2 separate regions of the Homo sapiens genome follow, and region 2 is linked to region 1. The links are contacts of gene promoters, found by promoter capture Hi-C in human tissues and cell types (Jung and others, 2019). All regions are on one chromosome and are shown on one strand. The core of a region is centred on a gene start or on the middle of the fragment in contact, and the rest is flanking DNA. Distances in the headings are between cores, read along the strand shown.

Region 1 (5,670 bases), core at 277-2,776:
GATGACAAAATTTCACCTAACTTCTGAAAATCTTATTCCCTCCATTTAACATAGATTTATTACTTCACTCAGAGTAGGAAATGAGATGCTTCACACACACAGATATTTTGGATCAATGGGGCCGCCCGGATGCCACCATTTCAAGTGTGAGATTCAAGATACATTTCTCAAGTCAGCAGCACACCTGCGTGTCTTACAGTTGCAGATTAGAATTGAACCCTTTCCCTGCATAGGGCCTTTCCCAGACACAATGTGGCAGAGCTGTGGAGAAACCTGGGATGAGGGACTCTCTGGAACCAGGAGGAACTGCTGAGATCCCTCGAGTGTCAGTTTACCCATGTCTAAAATAGGCTTCTGGGCCTGATGGTCTGCAATGCCCTGTGCTTCACTCCAAGTTACTGTCATGCTTGAAAGGGAGATGCAGGCCAGCGGGGACCACGGCACCAGGGAGTGTATCTCGTATGCAGGGAGAGAGCCCCAGCTGACAGCTGCAAGAGGAGAAACGGGGCTGGTGGGGATTCCTTTGAATTTCCAGGAGAAGGTGGAGGAGCTCTAAAGACTGTGTCACTATTTGCTGCTGTGCCATGGGATGCAGGTCAAGCTGGGCCCAGTTGCCCTGCTGAAGCTCCCTCCCGACCTGACCCCTCCTCTGCTCTGCTGGGTGACCACTGTCCTCATCTGGCTGAGGTCTAACTGCATCAGCTGGTAGAGGCAGGGTCAGGCATGCTCCACCCCAGCAGGGACTCAGCGCCCTGGGCTGTAGGGGTTTGTCAGCCGGCCTGAGGGTGAAGGCCGCTAGCCATAAGGGGCTGTGCCCAGGGGCGTGACTTGGGGAAGCAGGGCTCTGCAGAACAGTGAGCCAGGTTCCTGTGTGGCCCCTGCAGAGAGGACTCAGGGAGGAGTATGAACCTCATGGCCTGGATCTCATCCTGAGCAGCATCAAGCCCACCCAGAGTAAGCACAGTCTCCATCCACACCTGCTGGACCCTGGGAAATGCCACAGTCATGGTACAGACACAGTGGCTGCTGCAGGTTAAAGGAAGCTGAGTTTGTGCACGGCCGGGGAGCGTGCTTAGGCATGAAGGGCATCAGCGGAGAGCCAGGGAAAGCTGAATGAATCTGAGCATTAGATCATGAATGTATCAGTGTTGATTTGCTGGGAATGCTCTTGGGGGTTGGGGAACAAACCAGGCTGGGACCCAGGACCCCTGGGGTGGAGGGAGCACCTACCTGTTGCCTGGCTCTTAGTACCCGCAGCGGACGTCTGTAGTAGTCATCTTTGGTGGCCTTGTTATACTCGCTGATGGCGAAGTGAAGGGCACGCTGTACCCACTCATCATTGAGGTCTGCGTTATAGATGCCACCCGGGATTATCCTATCCTCCTCCTTGGGGCTCCAGGCCAGGGCCACAGCTAGGGTGGCCAGCAGGAGCAGCAGGGTACTCAGATACTGGGCCATGGTCTCCTCAGAGGCAGAGCACAAAGCTGGAGCTGCAGGAGAGGAGGGTGAGAGCCCGAGGCAGGGAGCCCAGACCAGCAGGCAGGTGTGCATTTATCCTGCTTTGGCAGCCCAGCCCCACCCACCTCCATGCCCCACCCCTGACTCCTCCTCCTCTTTCTTCCCATCCCCTCTTTCTCCATCTCTCTTTTCACTCCCCCGCTACTACAAGCTCCCTCCCTGCCTAAGTTCCCCCTGCCCCTCCCAGGCCTCCTCCTCCATCTCCCCCTCCTCCCCACTCCAGTCCTCACTGCAGCCTCCCCGAGCCATGCCTCTCTTCCCCAGTGCTCCCAAGCTTGAGTCACCCAGGTCTCCACAGAGGTGACACTGGTCCTTTGACTGTGAAAGCTATGTGACTTCCTGTTTGCTCAGAAAGGGGAAAAATACAGGGCTTGGCCTCCCAGGGTCTTCAGATATCAGGGGCATCCAGGAGCACTTGGTCACAGTCTCTGAATCTCTGGAACAGGGAGATTATTTCAGAAAGTTCCAGAAGACCCTGTCCATACCCTAATGTGGAGAATTTCTTTGCCAAATTTAAGGGAATTAACCTTTTTGGAAAAGGTCACTGGATTCTCTTTTCATAATTCATTATTCAATAAGCAAACCTATCACCAGCTACTCCCCGTGCCAGGAGGTCTAGGGCTTGAAGACGGAACCTGGATGATGAGCCATAGAGGTGACATTGCAGAGCTGCTGCCCAACAGACATGTGACACGAACTCACGAGCAATTGAAAATTTCTAGTAGATGCATTTTAAAAGATGAGAATAAATGGGTGAAAGTAATGTTTAAAATATTTATTTAACCTTATATAGCCACAATGTGATTTCAGCTAATGGGAACAATTATTAATGAGATCGTTTATGTTTTTTTTTTTTTTGTTTTTTTTTTTTTTGGTTTTGTAAATCTTTGAAATTCCCTGTGTATTTTTAACACTTAGACCAGAAGTAATTTTGGACTGGCCCCATTTCAAGTATCCTGTGGCACATGTGGCTGGTTCTATGGAACTCCATAGTCCATTCCTACACAATGTGTGTAGGGGATGGTAGGTTACGATCAAAAATTAGGGTCAGGGAGTTATGCTCACTCTTTTGGAAGTGAAATAGAACAGGGGCTAGAGAGAGACCACTGGACCCTGGTCAGGGTGGTCTCTATGAGACTGGAGAGGTTGAGAAGCCCCAGGCAGTGGGGAACAGCCAGTGCAAAGGCCCTGAGGTGGGGTTGGGACATGCCTGCTCCAGAAAGTGGAAGCTCCTGGAGGGGGTATGAGGAGGGAAGGGAACGACCTGGAGTCTCACAGTAAATGTGGGTGGGGCCCGGTGGAAGGTGCACGGAGACCCCTGTGAGGCAGTGGGGGTGTCAGGAAAGGGAGCAGCAGCCACGGGATGAATGTGGGAACCCACAGGTCTCTCTTGCTTCTGTCCTAGGCAGCCATGCTTCAGGCTCCTTTCCTCTGTTCACTGCTTGGAAGACTCACCTGATATTTTAAAAATTGCCTTAAATGAGGTAGAATTTGCATACAATAAAATGCCTAATAGTATGTGCTCAATCTGGGGTGTTTCATAAATGCATACACTTGTGTTACCACTTTATCCAGACCTGTGACATCTGCCTTGCCCCAGACAGTATCTTCCTGCCTTTCCAGCCACCCTCGTGCCCACCCCACCTTGGCAGTCCCCATCCGGCCCCATAGACTCCTTGGTCGCCTGTCCTTGAGCTTCCCAGGAATGGAGTCCTGCAGAGCGAGCCCATGTGTGTCTTTGTCCTTTGCCCAGTGTGGCTTTCCGGCGGCCCCCGAGTTGCTTCATTGCCAGGATTGTGAGTTCTCCTTCTCCGCAGACTGAGAGGATTTGGTCAGTTGGGTGTCCTATGGGCTGACAAAGCCCCCAGCTCGGGATGCTGTGGGCCTGGGCTGGAATGTGACTCCAGGAGAGGAGAGGGTGGAAGGAGGCTCTGAACAGACAGCTGCTCCCTTTGTTCTCTCAACCCCACCCTCCATGCCTGAAGGTGACCCTGTGGCAAATGCCCTTATGGGGAGGTGGCAGGCTTGGCCAGAAGCTACAGGAAACCCTGGACCTTAGCAGGACACCCAGAGGACTCTCCCAGGAGTGGTGGAGGTGAGCGTTGGCCAGTGTCAGCCCAGACCTGTTTAGAACACTAAACAATACTATAATAAACAAATGACCAAGTGCAGAAACCATCACATAAAGGTGCAAGTGATGAGGACAAGCTGGCCAAGAGTCATCCTGGGCTGGGACATGGCTGGGGCTGGATCAGCAGGAACCCGGCATTGGGAACCATATTACTCATGGGTGCTCATGTTCAGTATTAGTACAGGGAACCTTGTTACCTGAGGCCTGGTGACCATCTCACCCCACTGTGAATCCAGCACCCCTAGAATAGCCGTGCAGCCCGGCAGATACAGCAGGTGTACCGAAGGTGTTTACTGCTGGGTGAAGGAGGGAAGGTCTTCAAACAAAGCTGCACATATGCCTCCTAGTTAGACAGGAAATGGGGAGAGATTTCCAAAGAAGGGAAAGAGAAGGAAGTCCCTTACCAGGTGTTTGGGAGCAGAATGGTCATCTCCAAAGGGTAGGAGTTAGTTCTCCTCTGTGGCTCCCACCTTCCTGGGACAGCTGGGAGTCCAGGCTCAGGAAGACATGCTGTGCAGAGGGTAAACTGAAGGTCAAGCAATCCTCTTGTTTTTTTGTTTGTTTTTGTTTGTTTGTTTTGTTTTGTTTTAATCATTGGAAAGGAGATGCAGGTAACCCAAATAGCGAGAATGTGCTGGTGGGTGGAGTATGAGGGAGGGAGGCCAGAGTGCTGACCTGTGCCCTGTATGTGATGACACCACCAGTGGTCATCTTCTGTCTGGGCACTGGCATGCACTGCAGGGAGGGTCAGCTGTTCTGATGCAGCAAGCTCTCTAATCCCAGTAGGAAAAATACCAGTGTACATTGCTCTTAGGAGGAGGTACAAGTGCGATGTCCAGTATGGAGTGATAGGAAGTAGCAGGTTGAGGTAGCTGGCCAGCTGCTCCAGATGTTTGATGACCTTAGGCAAATGGTGTGTCTGTCATGCATCTGGAGAAAGAGGCTACTTTCTAAAGCATAGTATCTGGGAGTTAAGACCAGCAGAGATGAGCAGACTTCAGCAGTGATGTATCAACATGGTTAAAAATGATGGAGTAGCCAGGTGTGGTACTGCACCTGTAATCCTAGCTTATTAGGAGAGTGAGTCAGGAAGATTCCTTGAGTCTAGAAGTTCAGTTTCAGCCTGTGCAACACAGTGAAACACCCATCTAAAAAAAATGGCAGAACACTTTGTTCCCTGATTTCTATAGTCCACAGTTTTAAGGACACACTAGAAGAGGGCCAGATAGCAACCATGGACTGAGGAACAAGCTTGGGGCCTCCAGCACCCATGTAACCTAGAGGAGTCCAGCTGCCCAGGAGGGGGCATGTTTTCCTTCTGCTAGGTGACAAAAGAGAAAGCTGTGTTCCCCTAGGCTGCACAGGTGAACTGATCTGATTATCTGAATTAGTAGGATGAGAAATTAGGTGAGTGGCAGAAGTTCTCTGCAATAAATGACCAATAATAAGTGAACACTAAACAATACCATAATAAATGACCAAGCGCAGAAAGCATCATGTAAAAGTGCAAGTGGTGAGGACAAGCTGGCCAAGAGTTGAGATTCTGCACAACTGGGTTTTGAGCAACTAACAGTTTGGTCTATGGTAGGAGCTGGGACTGAACAGCCACAGGATTTGGTGGCTTCTCAAATGGGAAGCCCAGGAGCCTCCTTTATGGAGTGCCTGGAATTCTCTGGGGTCAAGCTCATCTCTTTCACACTCCATCCTTCCTTCTTTTCTCCCTCTCCTCACACATCGTGGACACGTGGATGCTTCTAAATTATGGGCCCATGTTGGTAACACATTTGGCTCTGTTAGGACATGTGGATGCTTCTAAACTATGGGCCCATGTTGGTACCACATTTGGCTTTTCCACATCATTAGGAAACTGATACTCATGGGGAAGCCTGCTGGCAGCCCCGGCTGGGAAAGGCAAGAGAGGGCAGAGCCCAGTGTCAGGTCTGATTGTTTTGCACTCCGTGGGGAGAAAGAGAATCCTTTCTCTCAGGGACCAGCACATGAATGGTATTCCTGGCTCTGGA
Region 2 (6,151 bases), core at 1,655-4,154, 51 kb before region 1:
AGTTAAGTGCTGTCCTGGATCTCTGATATATGGGCTGCTTTTAGGATTTGCCAAAAGGAAACTTTTAAAGCTTCTGTTTCTTTACAACCAGCAGCTCAATTACTTATGGGATGTAGGTTGTCATGGAGGCAGTAAAGAGTTCATTTGGGAAAAGAGTGGAGAAGGCATACAGCGGAAAATGGAATAAACCATGTATGAGTCAGTTTCTTTTCCATAGGAAAAACCCTTAACATCTTAGGGACTAAAAGCAAGAAACTGTTCCTGTCACGCTCTGGAGCCTGCAGATGGGCTGGGGCTTAGCAGATCTGGTCTGGCTTGCCTTGTGTCTTCATCCCGGGGCCCATGCTAAGGGGCAGTGTCTGCTTGGGTCAGGTTTTCTTCATGATGGTGAGGAGGGGAGCAGGAGGACCCACCTCTCGCATCTGCAGGGTTAAGGTCTCTGTCCTTGTCACATCTGTTAAGACCCAAGCAAGACCCATGACCATGCACAAAGGCAATGGGGGTTTATGCTGCATTTTCTGGAGAGAGTTGCTGCTAGCCACATGGCAGAGGGGGCATGCATGTATAGTTTTGTTCCAGCAAGGGAGACAGCTGTCCATCAATCCTGGCACACCCCCTTGAATCTAGGAAAACCCCTCTGCTCTGTGCTGTGACATGGCACACACTTCCAGGAAGCCTGTGGCTTTCATGCTGGCAGTGGCTGACTAAACTTTTGCTAACAAGGGTGATTTTTTTCAGTCTCCTGAGTTCCACCTGCGGTATCTTGGAAGTGCTGGCTCCCTAGAAGGGATCCTCCATATGAGGAAAGCTCCTTTCCAAAGGCCCATGTTTATTCTCTATAAAAACAGGCTGCTCAAAAGGTATGGCCTGGTAGAGCCTTTTTTGGCCTACATTTTGTTATATATTAATTGTTGAGTTCTTCCTAATAGAGAATTCACGTCTACTCCCACCCAGTGTGGTTCACATGGTATCAGAATCATAGCCAAATAATTGCGAAGGTGTGCAATGTGCAGGATGGGGTTTTATGATGAAAACTCAAGATGAAATAGAAGAAGGGGTCTGGGAAACAACAGTGACCCCCTGCACTGCAAAGGGAGGTGCAGGTAGGATGAGGTGGGGAAAGTGGCCATCTCTTGTGAGGTGACAACATCTGAGGGAAGTGGAGGGCGCTTCCTCCTCAGCCTCTGTCCCTGCATCCTCTCCAGTGCCCCAGTCCCTTCTGCCTCACACTCTCTCTCTGCTCTAAGGAACAGTACAGAGTGTGGATGCTGGTGAAGCGTGTTCTTAGTAACCAGCCAGCCTGCAGCTTCATCACGTGATGGTTTGGCCATTTCCCCTACACATGTATGCTAGGCTGAGAAGTTAGGAGGTGTTTCCATGACTTCCCAACTAGCTGACAACACTGGCCTGTGTATCTCAGGTGATCCCGATGCAGAACTTTGCTGTATTTTGAGTTTTTATTTTTTGCACCTTTTATTTTGTAGTGATTTCAAACTTACAAAAAGTGGGAAGAGTAATATAAAGAGCTCCTGTATACACTCAGATTCTCCCACTCTTAACATTTTGTCTCGTGCTTTTTCCTTCTCTTTCTATATGTACAAGCTATTATAGGTTTTTCTGAGTCATTTGAGTGCAAATTGCAGACATGACCTCTTTTGTCCTCAGATACTTTCATGTGTGTGTCCTAAGGACAAGGACATTCTCTAACACAACCTCAGTGCAATGAGCAAAATCATGATGCTTGTGTGGATACAGCCTTTTATCTAGTCTATTGTTCAGACAGTTTATCAATTGTGTTTGTTTGCCAAGCTTCCTTAGTCTCCTTTAATCTGGAAACGCTTTTCATTCTTTCTTGTCTTTGTTATCCTGTCATTTTTGAAGATAACTGGCTACTTTGAAGAATGTTTTCTGTTGGGGTCGTCAGTGGATTAGATTCAGGTGATGCATTTTTTTCAGATGAAAATTATAGAAGTGGCATTGTGTCCCTCAGTATATCATCATTCCAGGAGGCCAGGATACCATTGTCCAATTGCTGATACATGTTAACATTAATCTCTAGATATAGATAGTATCTTCCAGGTTTCTCCACTCTTAAGTTACTTTTTTTTGTTTGTGTAATTAATAAGTATTTCACAGAGCAATACTTAGAAAATAGTTTTATGTTCTACTTCTTATTAAACTTTTACTTTCTACCATTAGCATATAATGATAATTCTTTCCTAAATCAGTTGTTATTATGATTATTGTGACTATTTTTTTCTAACTTCATCATTTCTTCTGTATTTATTAATGGCATTCATTCCACTGTAAGGAAAACTTGCTTTTCTCATCTGTCTGTTTATCTACATACCTACCTACCTAGCTTCTGTCTCTCGACAGATCTAACTCATGGTTTCTTATTTTATTCAAGAAGTTATAATCTGTTACCACTATTATTCCAGTGTGTAGATTATCTCACAATTGGCTACCAAGAGCTCCTTTAAGCAGCTTCTTCTGTTCTCTTGACAGATTTCCATTATTATTGGAGCCTATCCTTACCTTCTCATGTATTAATAACAAGAAGTTCTAGATCTATTTTATACTTTCCTTCATCCAACTCTAGAATTACTGGCTGAAATCTGTGGTGAGTTCAGAAAGCAATGCCGAGTGGTGCCTGTGCTCATTCATTGCTACAGGGAGGCCATGGTGCCTCTGTCAGTAGTTATTCACCTGGGGCAATTTTGCTTCCCAGGGCACACTGGTAATGTCTAGGACATTTTTGGTCGTTGCTGCTTGGGAGGATGTGCTACGGCATTTAGTGGACAGAGGTCAGGGATTCTGATAAACATTGTGCATTTTTTTCCCCCAGTGGTAGATTAGAAGCTTTCGGTGTGCCTCAAACACTTGGAAATAGCAAAATAGTACCTAGTGATCAGCTCTGTGAGTTTTAACTCAAAAAGGCGAGTGGGAATCCACTGGAATCCTGAAGGACACCTCAGATTCTGGGGAGGAGAATGCAGGCAAATAGCCCCTAAGACAATGTGTTCCTCATAAAAGTGAGTGATATCCCAGAATGTGAGGGGGCAGAGAGTCTTCCTCTGTGATGTACCCTTCCACTGGGGATTCCATGGAACCAGGCCAAGGGAGAGCACTTTGTTTCTCCCAAGCCCTAGAGCTAACTTGGGGAGATGCTTGGACACTCTGAGAAGGAAAGACACTGGAAAAAGCTGCTGCCATTTTGTTAGACCTAGGACTAAGGGCAGTATGCTATTTTTAATCTGGGCTCATAAGTCAGTCATTCTTAGGTGACCCAGCAGCTTGCCCACAAACTCATTTTAGTCTTGGGCCATATGGGAGTGCTTATGCTAGAATGGGGTAGGGGCCTCCATATTAGAACTGAGCAGTGACTGCGAAAAATGCCCTAATAATAGGTGTTGGAATTGTGCTCACCCTTGTTGCAAGTCTAGAGCCAGAGGAGGTCTGCTGCAGCCATGGTTTCTCCTGGGTGATGACACTTGCAGTCAAGGTCATCTTGGTACCTGGAACTGGTCTCTGTGTATGAGTGCTGGATGCGCCAGACTTATTCCCTGAGATTGTGGAGTGGCTGGATCCTCTCTGCCCCACACGTGGGCTGATCTCTTGGCATTCAGAGCAACTGCTCCCTCGGATCATCAGCCTAAGCAGCCCCACCCTTCCTATGTATAGACTGTGGTGCAGCAGGGCCCTCTGTACTCCACACCCAGGTAGATCTCCAGGCATTCAGAGCACCTGTGTGCCTAAATCAGCAGCCTTTGCTGCCTTACCCTTCCTGTACAGAGACAGTGGTGAAGCAGGACCCTCTCTGCTCCATGCCCAGGTAGACCTCCAGATATTTAGAGCAGCTGCTCACTTGGAACAATAGCCTGAGCTGCCCCAACATTCCTGTGCAGAGATTGCGGTGTAGCAGCACCTGCTGCACTCCATGCCAAGGCAGATATCTGGGGATCTGGAGCACGCACTCCCCTGGATTAGGAATTTAGGCATTCCACCTCCTGCAGAGAAGCTGAGTCCAAGGAGGTTTCTCATATCCATGCCTAGGCACATCTCTGGGTGCTCAATTGATGCCCACTGGACTCCCACTCAATGCTGGTGCTTGTACCTGCTATTGGAGCACCTGTAGTTATGCCTGCCCTATAGGGTTATAGAAGCAAAGCCAAAAACCCTATAATCACACCCCCTGGAGAGGGGTTGAAATGGAAAGAAAAACAATGACGTAGGGAAAGAAAGAAAAAAAAATCTGTCTGTATGAAAATAATTACAAAAATTGGAAGTGCCAATATGTCCAGATGAGAAAAAAACAGCACAAGAATCCTGGAACCATGAAACATCTGAATGTTGTGACACCATCAAAAGATTGTACTATCTCTCCAGAATGGTTCCTAACCAAAATGAAAACTCAAAAATGACAGATAAAGAATTCAAAGCATACATTGCAAGAAAGCTCAATGAGATCCAAGACAATATTGAAAATCAACAAAAACAAATGTCTTAAGCAATCCAGGAAATGAAGAAAGAGAAACACATTTTAAAAGAAATCAGTCAGAGCTTGTCGAACTGATAAACTCCACTGAAGAAATTTCAAAATACAATTGAAAGCTTTATTATTAGACTAGACCAAACAAAACAAATCACTTCAGAGCTTGAAGAGTAGTGCTTTGAACTAACCGAGTCAGACAAAAGAAATGAACAGTCTTTGAGAAATATGATGTTATATAAAATGACCAAACCTCTGAATTGTTAGCATTCCTGAGTGAGAAGGAGAAAACATAAACAATGTGGAAAGCATATTTGAGGTAATCCAAGAAAATTTCCCTAATCTTGCTAGTGTCATAGACATCCAGACACAAAAAATACTGAGAACACCTGCGAGATACTATACAAAATGAACATCAATGCGTATAGTCACCAGGCTTTTCAAGGTCAATTAAATAAAAAATCTTAAAAGCATCTAGAGAAAAATGTCAGATAATGTACAAAGGAAACCTCATCAGGCTAACTGCAAAGTTCTCAGTGGAAACTGTACAAGTCAGAAGTGATGGGAACCTATTTTCAGCATTTTTAAAGACAAGAAAATTCAACCAATAATTTCATATCCTGTTAAACTAAGCTTTAGAAGCAAAGAGAAATAAAATCTTTCTCAGGCAAACAATCAGTAAGGAAATTTGTTACCAGTAGACCAGGCTTACAAGAGATTCTTAAGGAAGTACTACACATGAAAACAAAAGAAAGATCCAGCTAACATAAAAACAAACAAGTACATAGTCCACAGACTTTGTAAAGCAACTATGCAATAGAAACTACAAAGCAACCAGCTAATAACTTCATGAGAGGAGCAAAATTTCATTTATTTCTTAAATGACCATATGTAGTCATAGTTATAATTCTTCCCATTGTACAGATAAGTTAACTGAGTCTCCTAGAGATGACATCCCTAGCTCTCTCATTAAGGGTTCCATCTATCAGTTTCTGCTTTACCAGTGAGACTTCATTCTCTCAGCTACTGGGAGTGTGGCCACTGATGGCTCACAGCTGAGTCCTTCTGTGGGCATTGATCTGAGTCAAAGGGAGCTGCTTTGTCCAAGTTCATGTCCCTCCTGGAATTGCCTATTTTAAATAATAGGTCTATAAGGGAGTACAAAATGTTGACTCTTTTGCCCTAATATGCTACCACTCTGAGGCCATCCCCATTGCAGAGATCTCCATGGGCCTGACTTTGGCCTCTGCTGACCTGCACCCCTGCCTGACTTTTCCCTCTGCCCCACCTCATGCCCCTCTGCTGAGCTGCACCCCTGCCTGACTTCTTCCTCTGCCCCACCCCATTCCCCTGCCTCCCTAGCACATGCCTCAGTGAGCCTCTTGCCCTTGAATTTCCATCTGAGTCTGTTTCCAGGAACCCTAACCAAGAGATGGTGGAGTCAGGACCCACACCACAAATATCCTGCCTTTTAAACTACAGTGGGTGTTAGATCTGTGAATGTTTGGAGGATGGGGCAATTCTTGTCTGGGAGACTGGATGTCTCTTTTCCCAGGATTCAAGGGGTAGGATGCTCCAAATGTATTTAGACCTGAGACCTATTTGGAAAAATGGTGTTTTATCTGGAAAGTTCCCTGTTCTTGAAAATCTCTTACTCAG

Evidence for each region. Contacts are between HindIII fragments. The study calls those that stand out against the background at their distance.
Region 2: a fragment that was not itself captured here is called in contact with the fragment with the promoter of CST1 in region 1 in 1 of the 25 tissues and cell types used here (bladder).

What each region holds. Positions count from the first base shown.
Region 1 is chr20:23,749,409-23,755,078 of GRCh38, forward strand. It overlaps CST1 (cystatin SN), which reads right to left and starts at 1,527. Exons shown (of 3, transcript NM_001898.3): 1 at 1,231-1,527. The coding sequence starts at 1,458. RefSeq lists enhancers at 2,767-3,281, 3,282-3,795. The HindIII fragment of the contact is 8,409 bases long and covers 1-5,670 here.
Region 2 is chr20:23,697,496-23,703,646 of GRCh38, forward strand. No RefSeq gene overlaps it. Among named protein-coding and RNA genes, the nearest start is that of CST4, 12 kb to the left of the region's middle. The HindIII fragment of the contact is 3,930 bases long and covers 940-4,869 here.